Linked DNA regions of Homo sapiens: region 1 is linked to region 2. The links are contacts of gene promoters, found by promoter capture Hi-C in human tissues and cell types (Jung and others, 2019). All regions are on one chromosome and are shown on one strand. The core of a region is centred on a gene start or on the middle of the fragment in contact, and the rest is flanking DNA. Distances in the headings are between cores, read along the strand shown. Region 1 holds the start of CAPS (calcyphosine). Region 2 holds the start of FUT6 (fucosyltransferase 6).

Region 1 (3,543 bases), core at 1,009-3,508, 75 kb after region 2:
GTTATTTATTTATTTTTGAGACAGAGTCTCACTCTGTCGCCCAGGCTGTGGTGCAGTGGCATGGTCTTGGTTCACTGCAACCTCTGCCTCCTGGGTTCAAGTGATTCTCCTGCCTCAGCCTCTGGAGTAGGTGGGATTACAGGCACCCGCCACCATACCTGGCTAATTTTCTTTTTTTTTTTTTGAGACAAAGTCTTGCTCTTGTCCCCCAGTCTGGAGTGCAATGGCACGATCTCGGCTCACTGCAACCTCCGCTTCCCAGGTTCATGCAATTCTCCTGCCTCAGCCTCCCGAGTAGCTGGGATTACAGGCACATACCACCACGCCCAGCTAGTTTTTCGTATTTTAAGTAGAGACAGGGTTTCACCATGTTGGCCAGGCTGGTCTCAAACTCCTGACCTCAGGTGATCTGTCTGCCTCGGCCTCCCAAAGTGCTGTGATTACAGGCATGAGCCACCGCACCCGGCTGACTAATTTTTGTATTTATAGTAGAGACAGGGTTTCACCATGTTGGCCAGGCTGGTCTCGAACTGCTGACCTCATGATCTGCCCGCCTCGGCCTCCCAAAGTGCTGGGATTACAGGCGTGAGCCACCGTGCCCGGCCAGTTTATTTACTTATTTTTAAGAGGCGGGCGTCTTGCTCTGTAACCCAGGCTGGAGTGCAGTGGTGCGATCATAGCTCACTGCAGCCTCCAACTCCCGGGCTCAAGTGATCCTCCTGCCTCAGCCTTCCAAGTAGGTGGGATTACAGGAACACACCACCATGCCTGGCTAATTTTTTGTAGTTTTTGTAGAGATGGGGGGGTCTCACTATGTTGCACAGGCGGGTCTCAAACTCCTGGGCTCAAGTGATCTTCCTGCCCTGGCTTCCCAAAGTGTTGGGATTACAGGCATGAGCCACCGCGCTCAGGCAAGGCAACTTCTGACAATATAATTGTGCTGTGAGCGAGGTAAAGCCAGGCTTGGAGAAGGCTCCGATTGATGATCCTTGGGTCGGGGCGAACAGTGGGTCCTCAAACAGGGCCCACGTTTCAAGTCCTGGAAAACCCACCTATCTTAGCGGGCAGGTATATCCGATGTCTCCGTTGAAGGCCTTCAGTGAGGTGGCTTCGTCTCTTGAGGTTTATGTCCAGGATCAGGGCTGCTCTTCCACTCGGGGTCACAACCTCTGGCTCACCACCTTGTCAGGAGCCAGCCCACTAAGTCACGTTTCAGGCCTGAAAACCAACAACAAAAGATCCGTAAAGACAGAAATCCTGGGACTGGCTCCTAACAACGGCCAGTGACAAGCTTTGTGGCAGTGAGCAGAGGTGTCCCTCAGGCTCAGCTCAGTCTCTGTGGGTTGCAGGACCTGCCCTTGGAGGTGGGCCTGGGTGGGAGGTCTTAGGGCCCCAGGACCTGGGCCACCTGGGGCTTTTTTTTTTTTTTTCTTTTTGAGATGGAGTCTTGCTCTGTCGCCCAGACTGGAGTGCAGTGGTGCAATCTTGGCTCACTGCAAGCTCCACCTCCTGGGTTCAAGCGATTCTCCTGCCTCAGCTTCCTAAGTAGCTCGGATTACAGGCGCCCACCATCATGCACGGCTAATTTTTGTATTTTTAGTAGAGGCGGGGTTTCACCATGTTGGTCAGGCTGGTCTCAAACTCCTCACCTTGTGATCTGCCCACCTCGGCCTCCCAAAGTGCTGGGATTACAGGCATGAGCCACCGCGCCCAGCCCACCTGGGGCATTTTTGTTGCTGTACAATAGAAACAAGTTCTCTATATGTTCCCCAGGCTGGTCCAAACTCCTGGGCTCAAGTGATCCTCCCACCTAGACCTCCCAAAGTGCTGGGATTTCAGGCATGAGCCGCAGTGGCCGGTCAGAACCTGGGGCCCTTTTGAACTTTGATTCCTCAGCAATTTTGTCAGCCCTGGCTCGGGCTGAGAAGCCCCTGTGAAGCCAGAGAGGGAAAGGGACCTGTCCAGGGTCACACAGGAATCATGCGTCAAGCCTCCCCAGCCACGGACTTGTCTCCATCCAGGGCATTTCAGCCCCTGCAGGGCAGTGGCCTGCCCCTCCTCCTTGGAGCCAGGAAGGGATGCAGTGCCACAGGGATCTGGCTCTGTCCCAGGCCCTGTGGGGCTGGCAGTTGAGTAAGCAGTCAGGCTGGGCGCACCCATCCCTCCCCCACTCCCCACTGCCCAGCACAGTGCATTCATGCAGCTGGGCCCCACCCCATCTCCAGAGGCACCTTCCACTAGCAACAGTCTCCCCAGGCACAACACAGCTAACACAAGGCCCCGCAGGCAGGACTCTGGGACAGACGCAGGCCAGGTGAGCATCTGAACAAGGGGCAGTCGGCCAGGGTGGGCTTGCGGGAGTCCCCACCTTGACCTCTCTCCCTTCCAGCTGCCCAGAGCCCAGACCAAGCATGGACGCCGTGGATGCCACCATGGAGAAACTCCGGGCACAGTGCCTGTCCCGCGGGGCCTCGGGCATCCAGGGCCTGGCCAGGTGAGCTGTCCCCTCTCACCTTCCTGACCCCGGCCCCTGAGACCACTGTTCCAACCGTGTCCCCTGCCTCCAGGTTTTTCCGCCAACTAGACCGGGACGGGAGCAGATCCCTGGACGCTGATGAGTTCCGGCAGGGTCTGGCCAAACTCGGGCTGGTGCTGGACCAGGCGGAGGCAGAGGGTGTGTGCAGGAAGTGGGACCGCAATGGCAGCGGGACGCTGGATCTGGAGGAGTTCCTTCGGGCGCTGCGGGTGAGCCCCCACCTCACAGTCAAGGCGTGTGCCCTGGGCATGGGGCGACAGAGGATGCTGAGATGCGGAGACGGGGACTCCTCCCTAAGAGCTGCTGTTAAGAGGCGCCTGCTGGGGCATACAGCCCCAGTGCTCTGCACAGCGTCTTGGGGGTTTGGGTGTGCTACCCACCACCCCCAGTCACCACCTCCTGTCCCAGCCCCCCATGTCCCAGGCCCGGGAGGCTGTCATCGCAGCTGCATTTGCCAAGCTGGACCGCAGTGGGGACGGCGTCGTGACGGTGGACGACCTCCGCGGGGTGTACAGTGGCCGTGCCCACCCCAAGGTGCGCAGTGGGGAGTGGACCGAGGACGAGGTGCTGCGCCGCTTCCTGGACAACTTCGACTCCTCTGAGAAGGACGGGCAGGTGGGTGGCTGCGCGGGGGGCCCCCTCCCCAGGCAGTTCCTCGGCCGTGCCCCCTCACGGCCCTCTGTTCCCAGGTCACACTGGCGGAATTCCAGGACTACTACAGCGGCGTGAGTGCCTCCATGAACACGGATGAGGAGTTCGTGGCCATGATGACCAGTGCCTGGCAGCTGTGAGCAGCTCCGGCTCAGCCCTGCTGCCCTGGCCTGTCACTCCCCACCCCTGCCGGAGACCTCCCTTCCCTGGGCCCCTTCTCTCCTGGGCAGCCACACCACAGAGCGGGGAGGGGCAGGTGGGGGAATGGAGGCTGCAGGACTGGCTAGACCAGGTCCCTGCCGGTCCACCAGGCGGAGGTGGGACAAAGGTCCTAACAGGAGTCACTGGCTCAGGAC
Region 2 (3,600 bases), core at 496-2,995:
AGGTTGAATTTTAACCAAGTATTCCTTTGTGCTGTCGGGCTCTTGGGCTGCCAGTGAAAGGTTAATGTTTAGAGATACATTTAATATTAATATATTATCATGTGGCCCCTGGGTTTATGGCGACCTCTTCCTAGGAGACAGTGAAGTCTTTGCCGGTGACCTTCAGGAGGGGAGATTGGGGGAAACGGGGAACGGGAGTCCAGGAGAGAGATCTCACCCAAGGTACTTTCCCTGGAAAATGATCGATCCACGCCACAAAGATCAGGATGCAAAAAAACAAAGCCAGAAAGCAAACCGCATTCTAAGCCCTCTTTTACCACCGGGAGTGGCAGAGGCAGAGAAAATCCGGGGCCAGGAAGGATGAAGGGGTGTAGGCTGCTGATGGGGTCGGGGGGCACGGGATTCTACCGCAGAGCTCTGCAAGAGAGACAGACAGACACCCACTTCCTCCTGGTTTGGCAAATCAGCCAGACCTCCCATATCCTCAGCCCACCTCGGTGCATCCAGAAAGACCCCTGCCTGCGACTAGGGGCTGCTGGCCAAATGCCAGGCCACTGCACAGCCTGCAGACCCTCCCCCAGGGATCTTGTGCCAGCCCACCCGCACTCTGAATTACAGCAGACAGGACTGAGGCTGAGGGGAGGAGGCTCGGAGCCAGGAGGCCTTTCCCTGGACCCATGCGATCCGGGTTGGGGGTGAAAGTGGGACAAGAGGCCTTACCTGGGGGGGCCAGTGTGCAGAGGGCCCTAGAGCTGAGAGGCCGCGGACGGAGTAACAGCTGGATTCTGAGGACGTGGAAGAGGCCACACCACGCAGCAGAAGGAAGGAGGAAGTGTACCCGGAGCTGAAACCAGGCCCTTTCCAACCACCACACCTGTCATCAGGTGACCCAGGGCATCCTGTCCTGGAGCCCGGACATCCTTTGAAAACAAATCGTGGGGCTCCCCTAATCCCCGTTGCAGAACCAAACAGGGTGAAGGGATTTGGAGACTCAGGTCATGCATGACCTTGCCCCACCTGTGGCTTCAATGCGATGTGGCTTTGAGTACAAAGTGAAAAGGCTGACCTGAACCACCGGTTCCCAAAGCGGGTTCCACAGGGACACCAGGGGTTCCTTGGGAGGTGGGAATGAGGAAGTGAGCAGAATTTCTACCTTTCCGCTTTCCTTCCCACCAGATCCCACCTTCTCACTCAGTTGGCCCATCACCAAATATTTCCTGAGCACTAAGTGCCAGGCCAAGGGATCTTGCAGGAAACCGGTGGGCAAGTCAGGCAACTCATGAACCTTGGAAGGGAACTTTCTTCAATTAAAATTGCAGCCTTTTGAATAAAAAAGGGATGGAAGGGCATTCCAGTTACAAGGAACAACCTTCGCAAAGGCCCTGAGGCAGCAGAAATGCAGGCATGTTGAGGAACTGCAGGAGGAGTCTCAGCAGGCTGGGTCTTCACCACTGGAGAGGAGGCAGAGCTGTTGCAGAGGCTGGGCCACGGTCAGCCATAGGGTGTTCAGCACCAAGGCAATAGGGAGCCATGTGAGGCTTCAAGCAGAGGGGTTACCATGTCGATACATGTTTTCAGATGCTCTCTTCTGGTAGGCTGGGCACAGGTCCCATATTGGTGGCAGAAGCTTCCTCCGGTGGCCTCAACAAGCCCCTCTGTGTGCCTCAAAGCCACTTCCTTTCCCCACCCACTCCTGCAGGGCAGTGCAAAGCAGAAGTCCAGGGAGCTATGCAAACTTCCTGGAATGGAGAGAAATGATCTGGAATACTGGTTTTGAGGGAGGATGACCTTAAACTCTCTCACTCCCAAGCTGGGTGCAAAGGTGACCGAGCTCAAAGCCCAGCCTCCAAGTATCACGACTGCCCTGTTCTAGAAATCATTTCTGGGAGGCTGCATCATGCTGCCTGAGTTCTACTATCTCAGTGCCCAGCCACGCCCAGACCAGTGAGGTTCTGGGAGGTAGGGATGGGCCAGGGGGTTGGGGTCTCCCAGAGCTCCAGAAGTGGCAACCTAATTCCACTCATGTCTCATTCCTTGACTGGTGAGGTTGACTGTAACTTATTAAAAAAATGACTTCTGGGGGCCGGGCGTGGTGGCTCACGCCTGTAATCCCAACACTTTGGGAGGCCGAGGTGGGCAGATCACGAGATCAGAAGATCAAGACCATCCATCCTGACTAACATGGTGAAACCCTGTCTCTACTAAAAATACAAAAAAATTAGCCAGGCGTGGTAGTGGGTGCCTGTAGTCCCAGCTACTTGGGAGGCTGAGGCAGGAGAATGGTGTGAACCCGGGAGGCGGAGCTTGCAGTGAGCCTAGATTGAGCCACTGCACTCCAGCCTGGGCGACAGTGCAAGACTCTGTCTCAAAAAAAAAAAAAAAAAAAAAAAAGACTTCTGAGGCCATGCACAGTGACTCACACCTGTAATCCCAACAGTTTGGGAAGGAGAGGCAGGAAGATCGCTTGAGCCCAGGAGTCTGAGACCAGCCTAGGGAAAACAGAGATACCCCTATCTCTCTCTTTTTTTTGAGATGGAATCTTGCTCTGTCACTCGGGCTGGAGTGCAGTGGCACAGTCTCAGTTTACTGTAACCTATGCCTCCCGGGCTCAAGCGATTCTCATGCCCCAGCCTCCCGAGTAGCTGGGACTACAGGCGCGTGACACGGCACTGGGTAACTTTCGTATTTTTTTAATAGAGCTGGTTTTCGCCATGTTAGCCAGGCTGATCTTGACCTCCTGACTTCAGGTGATCTGTCTGCCTCAGCCTCCTAAAGTACTGGGATTAGAGGCCAGGCATGAGCCACTCCGCCCAGCTGGGTTTTTTTTCTTTTTTTTTTTTGAGACAGAGTCTCGCTCTGTGGCCCAGGCTGGAGTGCAGTGGCACGATCTCGGCTCATGGCAAGCTCTGCCTCCTGGGTTCACGCCATTCTCCTGCCCCAAGTAGCTGGGACTACAGGCGTCCGCCATCACGCCCAGCTAATTTTTTTTTTTTTTTTTGTATTTTTAGTAGAGACATGTTAGCCAGGATGGTCTCGATCTCCTGACCTTGTGATCCGCCCGCCTCGGCCTCCCAAAGTGCTGGGATTACAGGCGTGAGCCACCACGCCCCGCCCCCAGCTGGGTTGTTTCTTAAGGATTCAAAATCCAAAGGTAGGTCTCTAGTGAGGGACAGTAGGGCTCTAGTCATTCCATCGATGTGATCGCTGGGCAAAGGGAGGGTGGAGGACCTTGGGCTGACCTCAGGGATGGTGCCAGAGAGAACGTGTGCTCATCCTGAAACTGCTGTGTGACTTGAGAGGTTTCCTGGTCCTCTCTGAGCAGGGCTCACCATACCAGTGCCAGGTGGGACCTCCCTGCCAAGGAGCTGAGCCCAGAGCCCAGAGTAGGGTATCATGAGGACCTCTTCCCTCAGGCTCAGGGCAAGCTAGGACCTGCTTGAGGCTTGCAGGGGCAGTTAGGCCATCTGTGCACCTCGTTGGGGTCTTGGCCCTCATTGGACCCTCCAGTGCCTTCCCTGGCCAGGGCTGGGTGGGAGATGGAGCTGCCAGCCTGCTGGAAATTTTTCTCCCCCTGGGGCCCAGGGCTGGGAGCCAAGGGCA

Evidence for each region. The method cuts DNA at HindIII sites, captures the fragments that hold promoters and counts their contacts. A contact is called where the count stands out against the background at its distance.
Region 1: the fragment with the promoter of CAPS here is called in contact with the fragment with the promoter of FUT6 in region 2 in 5 of the 25 tissues and cell types used here (IMR-90 fibroblasts, aorta, bladder and 2 more).

What each region holds. Positions count from the first base shown.
Region 1 is chr19:5,911,996-5,915,538 of GRCh38, forward strand. CAPS (calcyphosine) reads left to right here and starts at 2,259. Exons shown (of 5, transcript NM_004058.5): 1 at 2,259-2,314; 2 at 2,390-2,494; 3 at 2,568-2,745; 4 at 2,945-3,151; 5 at 3,226-3,543. The coding sequence starts at 2,412. The coding sequence ends at 3,327. The HindIII fragment of the contact is 10,666 bases long and covers 1-3,543 here.
Region 2 is chr19:5,837,957-5,841,556 of GRCh38, forward strand. It overlaps FUT6 (fucosyltransferase 6), which reads right to left and starts at 1,746. Exons shown (of 3, transcript NM_000150.4): 1 at 721-1,746. The HindIII fragment of the contact is 16,612 bases long and covers 1-3,600 here.